Regions from separate parts of the Homo sapiens genome. Here regions 1, 3 and 4 are each linked to region 2. The links are contacts of gene promoters, found by promoter capture Hi-C in blood cells and fetal thymus (Javierre and others, 2016). All regions are on one chromosome and are shown on one strand. Each heading gives the region's core, a stretch centred on a gene start or on the middle of the fragment in contact. The rest is flanking DNA. Distances are from core to core; before and after follow the strand shown. Region 1 holds the start of VAPB (VAMP associated protein B and C). Region 2 holds the start of PRELID3B (PRELI domain containing 3B). Region 3 overlaps VAPB (VAMP associated protein B and C). Region 4 has its middle 9.8 kb from the start of ANKRD60.

Evidence for each region. The method cuts DNA at HindIII sites, captures the fragments that hold promoters and counts their contacts. A CHiCAGO score of 5 or more calls a contact.
Region 1: the fragment with the promoter of VAPB here is called in contact with the fragment with the promoter of PRELID3B in region 2 in 2 of 17 cell types (non-activated CD4 T cells and total CD4 T cells); the score reaches 6.1 in non-activated CD4 T cells.
Region 3: a fragment that was not itself captured here is called in contact with the fragment with the promoter of PRELID3B in region 2 in 2 of 17 cell types (naive CD4 T cells and naive CD8 T cells); the score reaches 5.7 in naive CD4 T cells.
Region 4: a fragment that was not itself captured here is called in contact with the fragment with the promoter of PRELID3B in region 2 in 1 of 17 cell types (naive B cells); the score reaches 6.2 in naive B cells.

Annotation. Positions count from the first base shown.
Region 1 is chr20:58,387,563-58,391,190 of GRCh38, reverse strand. It overlaps VAPB (VAMP associated protein B and C), which reads right to left and starts at 1,962. Exons shown (of 6, transcript NM_004738.5): 1 at 1,674-1,962. The coding sequence starts at 1,731. RefSeq lists silencers at 1,434-1,553, 1,814-2,253. The HindIII fragment of the contact is 12,509 bases long and covers 1-3,628 here.
Region 2 is chr20:59,040,795-59,044,036 of GRCh38, reverse strand. It overlaps PRELID3B (PRELI domain containing 3B), which reads left to right and starts at 1,251. Exons shown (of 6, transcript NM_016045.3): 1 at 1,251-1,338. The coding sequence starts at 1,307. SLMO2-ATP5E (SLMO2-ATP5E readthrough) reads left to right here and starts at 1,191. Exons shown (of 6, transcript NR_037930.1): 1 at 1,191-1,338. RefSeq lists a silencer at 934-1,333. The HindIII fragment of the contact is 2,130 bases long and covers 583-2,712 here.
Region 3 is chr20:58,406,475-58,409,987 of GRCh38, reverse strand. All of the region lies in intron 1 of VAPB (VAMP associated protein B and C), which reads right to left. Among named protein-coding and RNA genes, the nearest start is that of VAPB, 19 kb to the right of the region's middle. The HindIII fragment of the contact is 1,190 bases long and covers 1,551-2,740 here.
Region 4 is chr20:58,236,771-58,240,176 of GRCh38, reverse strand. It overlaps the pseudogene PPP4R1L. Among named protein-coding and RNA genes, the nearest start is that of ANKRD60, 9.8 kb to the right of the region's middle. RefSeq lists a silencer at 3,003-3,052. The HindIII fragment of the contact is 2,618 bases long and covers 660-3,277 here.

The sequences.
Region 1 (3,628 bases), core at 713-3,212, 650 kb after region 2:
ACTAACCGAATGAACCCACCAATTATCAGGAGAAGCCAAGCCAGGCCTCCCAGATAGAGAAAGAACTTCAGACAACTCAAGTGGAAACTAAGGCTCACTATTTTCACTTTAGCTACCTGGACTTCTTTCCCAATCTGGCATCCCCAGAAGGCCATGAGAACATCATGAAAGCTCAAGTACTATCCTGGAATTACAATCCACGGTAGGTTTGGTGGGGTTTTTCGGTTTTTTCATTTTAATTGGAAAGCCTTTGGTTCTCTGTAAATTCAGAGTTATTTCACATTGTTAACTTGGAAGGCAAAGTGACAGCCACCGTTCTGGAGTATTTCCCAGCGATCAGACAGCAAAACGGTTAAGAGCGTGAACTCTGAAGTCTGGGTTCAAATGTACCATTTGCCAACTGGGTAACTTTGGGTAAGTTACCCTACACTACTTCCCAATAGGACATATAAACTGGAGAGCCTCTGGCCATTCATTCATTCATAAATACCAACTGAGCATCTACTGTGAGTCCGGTGCTAGCGATATAGTGGAGACCCGGCCTTCCAATCTAAAGTACGCTTCCATGGAGTCAGACTGTTCCATTTCCTACACAGCACTTAGCACTATCTGCAATGATCTTGTGTGTTGGTTTGTCTGTCCTCGTCGGAAGGTAAGCTCTGTGAGAGCAGAGGCCTTATCTGTCTTGTGCATCCATCACCTCCCCAGAGCCTCCCACATCACTGGATACACGCAAAAAGAAAGAATGAGCATGTCAGACAAGAACTTTTACCTCGTGGCCCTGGTGAAGGTAGGAAAAAAAAAAAAAAAACAAAAGTAACAACATAGAAAACATAAAGGCACAAATTACAGAGGTAATAGTATCTGGGAGAAACCAGGGTCATGGCTTCCCATCGCCGCAGGTGTTGCTCCAGACAGCTCTGCGGAGAAAAAGGATCCCAGCACCGTGGCAGCCTCCTTGCACCGCAACCAGGAGACAGCATGAGGGACGCAGTGAAAGGAAAATGGGCCCAATCCCATCAGAAGTCCTGAGGAGGTTCATTTGTTGGTTCAACATGTTCATCTGTTGGTTCAACAGGTATTTATTTACTAGGCGTATAATGTGTGCTGGGTACACAGCAGCGAACTGACAAGAGCCTGTCCTCATGCAGTTTCCCTTCTAGTATTGAAACAGTGATTTTGGGTATGAAAAGTGCCGTGCTGACCACGAAACAGTGACGGAATAGGGAATGACAGCAGGTGTGCACGGTGGCTGGGTGGTCACAGCAGGCCTCTCTGAGCAGCTGACACCTCAACTAAGCCCTGAGGTCAACACTGTCACGGAGCAGGGGAAGAAACTTCTAGGCAAAGGCAGCGGCGGAGGCTCACACTAGAGAGGATCACAAACTGGTAAGTTACAAAGTGACAAGTGCCTCGAAGGCAAGTCCCAGGAGGCTGGGGGTCGGGGAGGAGGCGCAGGCCCCGGCTCCCGCACCAGCCCTCTCGGGTCCCGGCCACTCCGGGCAGTTCTGGGGAGCGCGGCGAGCGCCAAGGCCCGGCCCGGCCTCGCCGCCCCCCGCGACAGCGCCGTCGGGGTGGGGACGAGGGCCGACGTCACCCGCCGCGCCGGGCTCCGTCCTTCCAGCACTGGGGCGGAGGCCGCGGGCAGGAAGGTGGCGGCCTCTGGGGCTTACCTCGGAATTTGAGCTCGTGCTGCGGCTCGAGGCTCAGGACCTGCTCCACCTTCGCCATGTTCCTTAGCGGCGGAGCACCTTTGGCGGGGAGACCCCTGAGAGGTCACCGGGGCGGGAAGCGTTAATGCTGCGCCCGCTTTAAGTTTTACAAAAAGGCGGGGACCGGTCGGGGCACGGGCGGGGGTCCTCTACCGGGTGGGCGCGCTGGGGGGGGGTCGGTCTACGCGGTGCAGGCGCAGGGGCGGAGGGCGAGGGCGAGGCCGCGGTGCCCGGCGAGCTGACGGCACGCACGCACGCACGCACGCACGCAGAGTCGTACACACGCACGCACGCAGCAGGCTGGCCCGCTCTGGCGGCGGGAAGCTGCGCCCTGCGCCGCCGGCTCCAGGGGCGGGGACTAAAGCTGCGCGCGTAGAGCCCCTTCCGGGACAGTGCGCAGGCGCGGCACAAGCCACGGGGGCGGGACTGCGGGGCAGTAAGGGGCGGGGCTTCGGGCCGCTCAGGAGGCGGGGTCTGTAGTCCAGCTACGACAGCCACCGCGGAAACTATTAAGGGCCCGCTGGGGGCCAGCTTCGTGTTAAGTGCTTTATTCAATAATAACAATTAGAATAAACTTCCACTTTTCTCTTGCTTATGTAGTGCCAGGCACTGTTAGAGACTTTGAATAATAGTGAAAGTACTTAGTATAAGTATAATGTTTATGGGTGAGTGATATGGGCTAGGCACTGTGACGTCTTGTAAATAATAATTATAAATATAATAAACTACCAATTATTGCTTATTTATTTTGTATCACTCTACTGAATGCTTCCAATAACAACAGCAACTACAATAAATACAAGCTACTCTACGTTAAATGTTTACTATGCAACTGGCACTGTGCTGAATTCTTTACTAGTAAATTCTATTTGTTTATGCAACAAATATTTAGAAATACAATGATCAGAAAAGCGAACCTGATTCCAATCCTTTTACTATAGCCTAGTGAAGAGACATCTTTTGAATAAATAACCACACACGTAAGTTAAATAATTAAAAATTGCTGGAGAATCCAGATCTGCTTGACCTCAAAAGTGGATACTCTACATCATGATTACCGTTTAAATTGTATTTCATTATATTATGTTTACTATGGAAGTTAAATAGGTGTTCTTAATAGTCTCCTATACATACCCATATAGGTGAGACAAATGTGGCAAATTGCTAGCAATGGCTGACTCTACATCGCAGGTATATGGTTTTCTTGTACTGTTTCTCCCACTTTGCTGTATACTTGAAATTTTTCATGATAAAAAGGTTTTTTAAAAGAATAGTCTTTGTATTTTAACTGGAGCATTTAGTCCATTTACATTTATTATATTTACTGATATATCTGGAATTATTTCTACCATTGTATTTTGTTATTTCTATTTGTCCTGCCTGGTTTTTTTCCCCTTTCCTTTCTTCTTTAGGGTTTATTTTTATTCTCATTCTGATTTTCTTCACCTGTATACTCTATTTCTAAGTTTTAGTGGTTACTTCAAACTTTTGGGCATGCATACTTACCTTGTGAAAGTCCAATATCTTTAAATATTTGTAAAAATGTCTTTACCCTGTTTCCTTAAAATATAAAGACTTTGGAGTACTTTAATCACCCATCCTCTAAATTATACACCTTAATGTAGTGTATGTTAAGTTTAACCTTTGCCACTGTAACCCCAAGAGACATTACTAAATTGTTTTATTCAGTCAACATTAGTTTAGATTCAGCCACACAATTACCATTTTTATCCACCTTTTCTTCTTGCATCTCAGCTTTCACCAACAGGATCACTCTCCTTTTGCCTGAGGTAAATCCTTTAAATTTTATTTTTTTGTAGCTTCGTTGGTGCAAATCCTCTCAGTTTCTGCTCATCTGCAAATGGATTCATTTTTGCCTTTTGTTGTTTTTATTTTATTTATTTATTTATTTGGAG
Region 2 (3,242 bases), core at 2-2,501:
AGAGCAGGGTGGGAAGCCATATTCTGAAAGCTAAGCCAGGCAGTCTGTTCCCTGGACAAGGCTCATCTCTGAATGAAACCACATGCCACCTCCTCCTGCCCCAGCAATTCTTAGTCATTCTTTCATCCATTGATGCAACAAATAATTGTCATTTAGGAAGGGGGAAATCACTGAACAAGTCTGGCAAGAGCCTCGCCCTCAGGGGCTTACAGTCTAGCGGAAGTTACAACAAATAAACTAGATGACTCCATTAATTCATTCATCCCACAAATAGCTATTGATTTTTTTCATTTTTCAATAAGTAGTCATTGAGCCTTGACTATATGGGAGACACTGAGGATGATTTTTGAGCAAGACCGGCAAGATTCTTGCCTTCAAGAACTCAGTTCGATTGTGAATTTTCACAAATAAATTAACAAGATGATGTCAGAGGGGTAAGTGCTATAAAAAATGCAACAGGATATTGTGACGGAGCAGAGCAACAAGGTGAGAAACGGTGACGAGGGAAGTCTCTCTGGGAGAGACATCTCAGCTCAGATCCATCCTATGCACCTAGGGCAAGGTGTGCCCGGCCAGGAAGCTTTTCTACCCGACCCCTGGCACCGTGCTTCCGGACCGCATCCCTCGTAGGGGTATTATTCATGGGCAGGTCTGATGTTAGCTTCTCCGCGTCACGCCTTATTTATCCCCTCCGAGGGCTGCAAGCTCCTGGCGGGCAGGTGGGACTGGCCCAGCTGATCGGCTGGGTGGCTGGTGGATTTGGGAAAACAGCCCGGGCTGACCCAGGAGGTGGCTGGAACTCTCTATAGGGCACCAGGAAATTTTGCACAAGTGACCACCACAACGAACATCTATGTCAGCAGGCTGACCGCATGCGTCCACACGCCTCGAAATGCCAGGCGAGGATGTGCTGGGCCAGAAGGACAAGGAGGGCCAAGCGGGCGCGCAGGCACCTCCTGGACCTGACCCAACTCTGCCCAGAGGTCAAGGCTCGCTACAAGCCCGCCGCGCCTGCGCAGCACAGCGCCCGCGCCGGCCCCTCCAGCTGCCGTCGGCGGCACTGCGCCGGCGCGATGCGCCCGGCGCTAAGAGGCGGGGTTTCCTTGCGCCGCGCGCAAGGCTGGGGCAAAACCCGGGCCGGGATAGGGCGTGGGGCCGCGCGTCTGGACGTCCCTCGCGTCGGGCCCGACAGCGCCTGCGCACTGCGCCGCCGGCTGGGGTGCTGGGGGCGGGGCAGGGGCAGGTGTAGCCTCTGTGCCTCGTTGTCCCCTGGCGCTACCCGGACATCTCTCAGGGTGCCGGCACCATGAAGATCTGGACTTCGGAGCACGTCTTTGAGTAAGTTTGGGGCGCGGGTCGGCTCCGTGGAGGGCAGGCACGCCGGCCCTGGAGTAGAGGCGAGGCAGAGGCGGCCCGCAGGAGGCTTCTAGGCGTCGGGCCTAGCGAGGGGAGCGAACTCTGAAGCCTGCGGGCCCCGGCGACACGGAGGGCAGACCAAGGTCACGACCCCGAGGCGCCCTAGCCGAGGGGACGGCTCCGACCTCCAGACCCAGGCGGCCTTGCGACCGGCAGGGCTACGGGGTCACTTCCGGGCTGTCCCCCACCATGAGGTAGCCTCGGGCCGGCGGCCTCCTGAGGTCCTGGGGGCGTCGCGGAGCACGAAGCCCTTGACAGCACTCAGGGTTGCCCCATCCCGCCCTGTGAAACCACTTTGGGACGTGGACCCGAGGATCCCAAGAGGGAGGTGTTGGTTTTCTCCAGAGTGTACTTTCCCTGGCCGCCGTTTGGGTGGAGTTTCTACCTTCGAATGTGAATTTCGGGTGAACTCTGACCACCAGGATGTGAAGCCTTTTCACAACTCGTTCATCTACGCAGCAGAGCCTTGGATTTGGAATTCAAGGTCTAGCTCTGGCTGTAACAAGCGTGTGACCCTGGGTTACCCATTTTCATCTGAGAGATGGAAAAGGACGATCGTCAGGGCCTACCCGTGTTAGCTCTTTGAGGCCACGTTCAGGAACATCTTTTTGGATAATGTGAACTGTTTACTAACGAAACTAAGCCTTGAACCAGTTGGATGTGGAGAATTATATTCTCTTCTAGGTCCCTGATTCCATTTACAAAAGAGCCACAAATTTAAGCAGCGAAATCCTTTTTTTTCCCGAGTTACCTGCTCTGTTCCGCTGATCTTAATGTCGTTGCCACACTGTTTTAATTAGTATAGCCTTGTAAATAAATATGCTACAAAGCCATTTATGTTTTTAAAACTGTCTCTGAAGGCAAATTTTTTTTAAATTTCTTTTTTGAGGCAGAGTCTCGCTCTGTTGCCCAGGCTGGAGAGTAGTGGCGTGTTCTTGGCTCACTGCAACCTCCGTCTCCCGTGTTCAAACGATTCTCCTGCCTTGGCCTCCCAAGTAGCTGGGATTACAGGCGCCCACCACCGCGCCCGGCTAATTTTTGTATTTTTAGTAGAGACGGAGTTTCACCATGTTGGTCAGGTTGGTCTCAAAGTGATTCGCCCTGGTCAGGTCGCACCTGACCTCAGGTGATTCGCCCGCCTTGGCCTCCCAAAGTGCCGGGATTACAGGTGTGGGCCACTGTGCCCGGCCTCTGAAGGCAACTTTTAAAACGTTGTCCGCATTTGTACTCAGTGGGACACATCCTAGGGCCTGCTGTATCCTGCAAAGTATAGAATACTGGAATCAGAAGGAAGCTTTCTTTTCCCCCTACTGTTTAGTCTTTTTGGGAGGAAAAAGACCCGAAATTTGTGGTCATTTAGATGTTCATTAACCTGGTCGCATTCATCACTAGTCCATTTCAGCTCCGAGGATGTTTAATTTCAGTCCTCTTCCAGGTTTGCATGCTTCAGTCCTCTTCTGGGTTTGCATGCTTCAGAGGTTCTCGGCACTCAGTCTCCCTAGAACTGTCTTCTCCCATATCTTCCCTAACTCTTCTTCCTGGCTCATCCCCTCCTTCCCTCTACACTCTTTCTGCCTTTGTCTTCAGCGCTTCCCTGTCTTTTCCCATTCAGTGTAAATGTTCAGTGAGATTCTGTGTTGGCCTTCCTATATTGGATTTTACCTGTGATCTTAATTTCTTTTTTGTTTCTCTTTTCGTCACAGACTTTTTTTTTGTCCTGGGAGAAGCAGCCCTGATCCGTGCTTTCTCCCCACATAATCTGAGCTGTTTGGTCAAAGTCCCAAATGATAGGTATACATTTATGGCACCCAGATCTGTACCTTGAG
Region 3 (3,513 bases), core at 896-3,395, 630 kb after region 2:
TAACATTTCTAATATTAAATATTATTGAGATTTTGAAAATATCTATCTGTATTGTGTGTGTGTGTGTGTGTGTGTGTGTGTGTATATGAATAAAGATTCTTTGTTGTGCAAAGTGATTGCTCCTCTTCCTTTTCTAGAGTTCATGAAATTCTGGTTTCACAAATACATATCCTTCCTTTGTTATTTATCTTCTGATGTAGCTACAATACTTTGAAACTCAACCTATATATGTTACCAAATAAGTTGTATACCAATTTGATATATAATCTATCAGGTCTCAGCTTTCCAGATACAAGTTTAAAGTTATTAGCTTCACAACAGTTTTTTCCACTCTGCATAAAAAAAGCTATATTATTTTATACTCTTGCAAACACAAATTAGGTACAGTATCTCTCCTTTTCACAGCCTCTCCAAAAAACAAATTACCATATTTCACTTCAACTCTAAAAAGATTACCTTCTGGGAAGGTAATAATCTGTCTCCAGAAGCCTATGACTTTTGATGGATTTTGTTAAGACAATAAAAGTGTGCTTGAGGTTTCAATACAGTAGACTCTCTATGTGGGAAAAATACACTAAAATGGAGGGACACGGACATTCTAAAGCAAAATCTGTTGGATATCTTATTAATATTTTTAAATTTTACCCTTTGACAGTCTATTTACATTAAAAAGTATCCTATTGCTTTCTGCGTTCTATACCCATCTGCAGTGCACCAATCCCCACATTATTTCTTTTCTTGTTTATGTAAATCTTCCCCTTCTAGAATGGAAACTCCATCAACACAGACTTTTTTGTCCCTCTTGTTCATTACTGATCATCAGCACCTAGAGCACTTGCAGGCATAGAACAGATGCTCAATAATATATTTGCTGAATGAACAAATAGCCATGCCATGCTTCCATCTACTTCACACAATGGCTGTATTCTTCCTCTATGCACCCTCTGTAAGCACATCCAGGCTCTGGGTGAATAAATACTGAGACTACTGCTGCTCCTGTTCCAGCATTACACCCTTTTCATCTTCTGCATAGGACATATTTTGTTTGTTCCTTTCCTGTTTCCACATGGAGTGGGGGGCGGGGTGGGGGGGGGGGGTGTCTGTCCTATTCATCACCAGATCCTCCAAACTAGAACAGTGCCACAAACATAGTAAAAATGTATGCTGCATGAATACGAGACTTCCTCAGAGGTCATTGTACTCTGATTCTGCTGCATTTCCTGTAAACAGACACCTACTTCAAAACCCGGATCTGAAATCACTCTAAATTTGTGCTGCTTATATACAGGTTGAAGGTATTAAAAATGCTCACTGTGTCAATAATGCTTTCATCATAATTATTCTATGGTGTTTTTTTTTAAAGTTGCCCCCTCCCTAAAAAATGAAAGATACCATACTAACAGATATTCGAAGAGAGTGAGCTGTTAAATAACCATGAACTCAAGAATAAGGACACTGGAGAAGTTTTCTTAAAAATCTATTTTCTTGATCGAATTGTTAGCTCACACATTAAATCAATGCTTTAGAAACAAAAATAAAGCTTTAAAGCTTTGCAACCAATGTGTTTAAATGGCAGACATTATATTCCAATATTCCAGCAGAAAGCCTGATTGTATAGCTCTTATTTTGAAATAACCACATAAAAACAACCCTACCCATAGACACATAACTTTCCTGAAGAACTCTTAGAATGCAGTGTTTTAAATTAATAAAGTATTCTCCTGGTATCCTCGGGAGCCAGCCAGCTACTGAGAAACATCACACCTGTTATTGCAGCAAGAGAAATCAACACCAAGAACTCTCACTGATGATGCCATCAAAGGCACACCAGAAGCCAACTTGATTGAAATAGACTATACCAGACTTGCAGGGTGCTTACTCAATTCACTAGTTTCCTAGGTCTTTCAGAGCAGAAAGAAACAAAACTCAGCCTGCCACCACCTCCATGGGTGGGAAAACTAAACTGGAAGACATGCTACTGTATTTTAAGAATTCCTAAGATCAAACTCAGGAAAGCTACCTGAAAAAAAATACAAAGTTAGTAAGGAACAGCCTGGAAAACTAAGATATTTGCAGTTTATATAACAGATGAATGGCCAGAATTGAAAATATATAAAGAATTCTCTTACTTACAATAAAAATTCTAAAATCTCATGAAGGAATACTATACAACTCTTTAAAAGAATGAACTAGATCTGTATTTCAACAGTTGATAGGTCTCAAAAACATGTTAAGTCATCCATACACCATGACACTACATTAAGTGATCTAGAAAAAAACGGAAATAGTTCACATTAAATTCCTCCGGGGAGTTAAAAAAAAAACAAAAAAAAAAGGAGGGCGTATGAATCAGCAGATATGGAGTACAGACATGCCATAAATTATTAGTGAAGTTTTACTTGTTTTATTAAAGAAAGATTTAAAACGAGTCTTCTAACAAATTATTAACATTTAGTTACTCCATACTGGGGTATTTATATTATCTGTATTTTTCTGTACTTAAAAATTTTTTCATATACAGAAAGCTACCTGTAGTTTATGTGAGATCCAAACAAGGTTCTTTTGAAATAATTTTCTACTTGTTCAGACTTGTAAAGTTGTTGAAAACTGATAAACCAGCCTTGATAGTCATGCTTGTATAATTTATAAAAATCAAGGTTATCACTCAAAACATGTTTAAAGTTGCAGTGGTCTCATTAACTCAAGACAAAGACCCATGTGTACAATTCTGACAAAAGCTTCTGTATGAACTTCAAATACTAGAAACCATCTAAAGATAAATACTGTCACTACTTTCCTTTAATACACTAGATTTTTTTTCGTAATAGAAAAATGGCTAAAAGGAGTATATAAGAGCTGAGGCTTCATACATTCTATCTATATCCAGCACTAATATTATCGTGCAGTAGAAGATTATTCACAGATGAATTTTACATCAGTTCTAAAAGGATCTTAGACGATTTAATAAACTGAATTTTTTCAATGCATTCTTTATCCCATTGACTAACGAACATCTAGTAATTATTCTCTACTTGAAAGACCAAAATTTCTGATTACAGTAATCACAAAAATAAACAAAAAGATAAGCAATATTCTACTGCAAATAAAATTCTATCTAAATAGAAGAGTGACAAAACATGATTCACATTTTACACAAAGCAGGATGAGTCAAGACAGATAATATGCTCAAGTTAGGGGTATGAGTGATAAAATAGCATGGGGTCCCAATTTCTCATGGTTGTAGTTGTTTTAACAGTTCAAGTGCAAAAAGTCATTAACAACAGAAGTAAAACTTCTCCAAAGTGTTCCATCTTTAGTGGAGATGACAGCATGTGAAAAAGCCTCCATACGAAAATCAACACATCCAATTCACACCAGATACAGAACAGGGGAGAAGAACAAGTTTAGCATTCTGCACCTTGATGATCCAACTGGAATTTTCAATCTGTGAACGATGAGAAACAGTAGAACGTGGTTTATCAGTTAGTGTGTAATCTGTTCTGGTTCCTTTTC
Region 4 (3,406 bases), core at 719-3,218, 800 kb after region 2:
GTTGTAAGAAAAGAGAAGGCAGTCTCCATTCTCAAGAGCTGGATGTACCAGCCTAAGCAGACATTGCTGTCTAGACTGTCCTCTATGATATCAAATATTGTGCCAATCTTAAGAAGATGAGTTTTGGGTGTTGCTTTCACTTCAAGCAAAATTGAAAACCCACTCTCTGGAGAAAACAGAGTTGGCAATCTGAAGCCCTTTGGCTTTAGGAAGGCCTCATGTTCCTCTCACATTTCTGCTTTATTGTTTTCACCTCTAAACTCCAAACTCCTTGTTTTTCATGAGTATTTTCCTGCATTCACGATGGCCTCCTTTCTCTCTCATTTCCCAGGATGTAATACCTCAGCCGCTGCTAGATCAGTATGTGTCCATGACTGACCCAGCTCGAGCCCAGACTGTCGATACTGACATAGCCAAACACTGTGCCTACAGCCTCCCAGGGGTGGCACTGACCCTGGGCAGGCAAAATTGGCACTGCCTGAAAGATACATATGAAACACTGGCTTCTGATGTACAGGTAAAAGCCTTTCCAGAGGCACGTGCAGAAAGAGGGTGGGTCATTCATTAGGGAGAAAAGGGAAGCTGCAGCAAGGCTTATTGGCCTGAATTTTATGTGGATGCAAATTGGCATGTTTACTGGTCTCTGATGAAATAAAGCTTTAAGTGGCCAACACCTGGCAGTATTCATTTTGCTCCAAAAATGCCATGTAAGATACGGAAGAGGTTGAATTGCACTTGCTTGTCGTGATTCGTGTGTCTGCTATGCACCCCTAGTGGAAGGTACGGCGAGCCCTAGCCTTCTCCATTCACGAGCTGGCTGTGATTCTTGGGGATCAGTTAACAGCAGCTGACCTGGTGCCTATCTTCAATGGATTTTTAAAGGATCTGGATGAAGTGCGAATAGGAGTTCTTAGACACCTGTATGATTTTCTAAAGGTAGGAAGAAGGGTTAAAAGCAAAAAACAAGCCTCCTCTCTCCGAATCAAATTTGTGAAGCCCTGGATGTCTATGGTGTCAGTGAAAAAAACAATGCAGTTTTTAGCTTTCTTTAGCTGAAATGTACCATCCATAATCTTAAAGTGGATGTTCTTTCAGTGATGGGTAAATATTTTAAACTTTTTTCTCCTCATTTTCCTGTCCATTAGAGTTTTAATTCTGTGGAAGATGGTAGACACAAAGCCTAGCACACTCTTTGCAAAAGAAGAAATCAAGGCCCCCAGGTAGTGACCTGACTTGCCCAGAAGTCACCCAGGGGAAGAGCCTGGGCTGAAGTCCAACCTCTGTTCTGCATGAAGCACTTTTTCTGCAAGTCGCTGCTGCTTCCCTTCTGGCTTCCCCCCCTCCCCCCCAAACGAACGATGAATATAAAAAATAAGAGTTTAAAAATGACCTAGAGAAACTAATTACTCTCATCCACATGACCAAGAGCTGCCCTTCACGGACTCTGGTGTGCGCTGCTCCAGCTGAGTCTCTCCTCTCCTGGTGCCGAGCAGCCTCGCTCCCTGGGAAGCGGCAGTGGCACACTGTCTTCCAAACACACACAGACTGGGTTTTTGTTTGTCTGTTTTTTTGTTTTTAGATAGGAAATTACTAAAGCAGGAAGACCTCAGGGGCATTCAGAAATACATAATAAGCACATGTCCTAGCCAGGGGAAAAGGTTGGAGGTGTTCAGGGATGCATTTGATGTCAGTGTACAGCAGTGTTCATTCGCAGCCACGCTGCGTGATAGATGACGAGGTGTAGGGGAAATGCAAAAGTTCTTGCCAGTGACAAATGTATAATTGGAAGTGGAATAAAAGGGGGCATTTGGGGTCATTTTGAAGGATTATACATGTTTGTTTATATATACATTTTTAAAAAATAGTTGCTTCATGAAGACAAGAGGAGAGACTATCTTTATCAGCTTCAAGAATTTGTAGTGACTGATAACAGCAGGAATTGGAGGTTTCGATATGAACTAGCAGAGTAAGTAAAAACATATTTGGGGATATGAGAAAGCAAACTAGATGGAATAAATCTTAATTTTCTTACCATATAATTGATTTCTAAAGCAGCAGCAATAGTGTTCTTTTAGATAAAGAGATTATGTTTTTATTAAGGTATAAACAGAATTCCAAAAACCCTGAGTTACAAATACCACAGTCTCCGGGGAGACATTCATTTTCAGATGAAGACAGGGCTTGAGTCACTTTCGAATTAGAGTGTTCTGCTGTTCTAGAAGGCAATTTATTTGAACCAAATAAAAGATGAATCACCCACTCTTCAGTGTTTTCCTATTAATCGGAGCAGTTTTTACCAGAGCTTTCCTGAACATTCTGAGTGTGGTCCTCTCCGTAGGGTACAGCATGCTTAATGCCCTTTAGCTACTGTGGGAGACAGGAAGGGGTCTAACCCAGATGAGATGATTATGAAACAAAAAGGTTCCCCAAGGTGGCTCCTATCTGCACATCATTTTGTGCCTGAAGGAGTTATTTAATTCTGTCTTGAGCTGGCAAAAGGAATGTTCCAGGCTTTAGTGATGATGAAAGGGTGGAAGCATCAGTTTAAATAACTCCCCTTCCTAAGGTATATAATGTGCCTTTCACGGTGTGGAGGGAATTTGTTTGTGGCAGTTGTTGTTTGGGTTTTAGTTTTTACCTTGTTTTCATTTCGGTGTCTTTAGTTTTCATTTTTCTCATCCACAACTAGAAATCTCTCAAATAATTGTCTTCCCTGAATAAATTCATCAGGCTTTTGCAGCTATTCAGGATATGATTTGGCTGATGCCAGGGGCAAACCGAAAGCCTTTCTCTTTGCTGTGGTCTTTAATCATTCTGCTTAATTTGAGAGATTGAGGTTTCAGTCATTTTACCATGTTCCCAGCATCCTGTTCTGAGTCGAGAAAAACAGGCCCACGTTTTCCATGAAAGCAGTGCGACCTCTAGCGGCGGCGCACGGGAAGTAGGCGCGCTCGGTGCCCGGCGGGGCTTCCCCGGGTGGTTGCGCGGCCCCAGTGCCCGACCACGTTATCTAGCCCCCTACGCGCCCTATCTCCCATCTCCCGGCTTATTGAAGCCACAGCGACTGATATGAATTCTGTGCTCCGGTGCCCATGATATTGGTATCATGTTTTTGAAAACGGTGCTTTTTGATATGAAAGTATTCACCAGCACTCCGGGCTTCTGGTTCTAACTTCCTCCCCATCTCTTTTTCATTTCCTTTCGTTGCCTGGGTGAAAGCAATGTCATTTATTTTCATGCCCTTCTCCCCATCCCCATTTAGAAAGTAGTGAAAGCTTTGGTAGTGGGTTTTCGCAGCCAGCCGTCTCCTGCATGCTTTTGTCTTTCGGAGTAAGGAGCACGCGCTCCCAGTTCTCTCCAAGCGGACCTCGCTGCAGTGAAACCACCTCGTGCTGCCAAGAGCCGC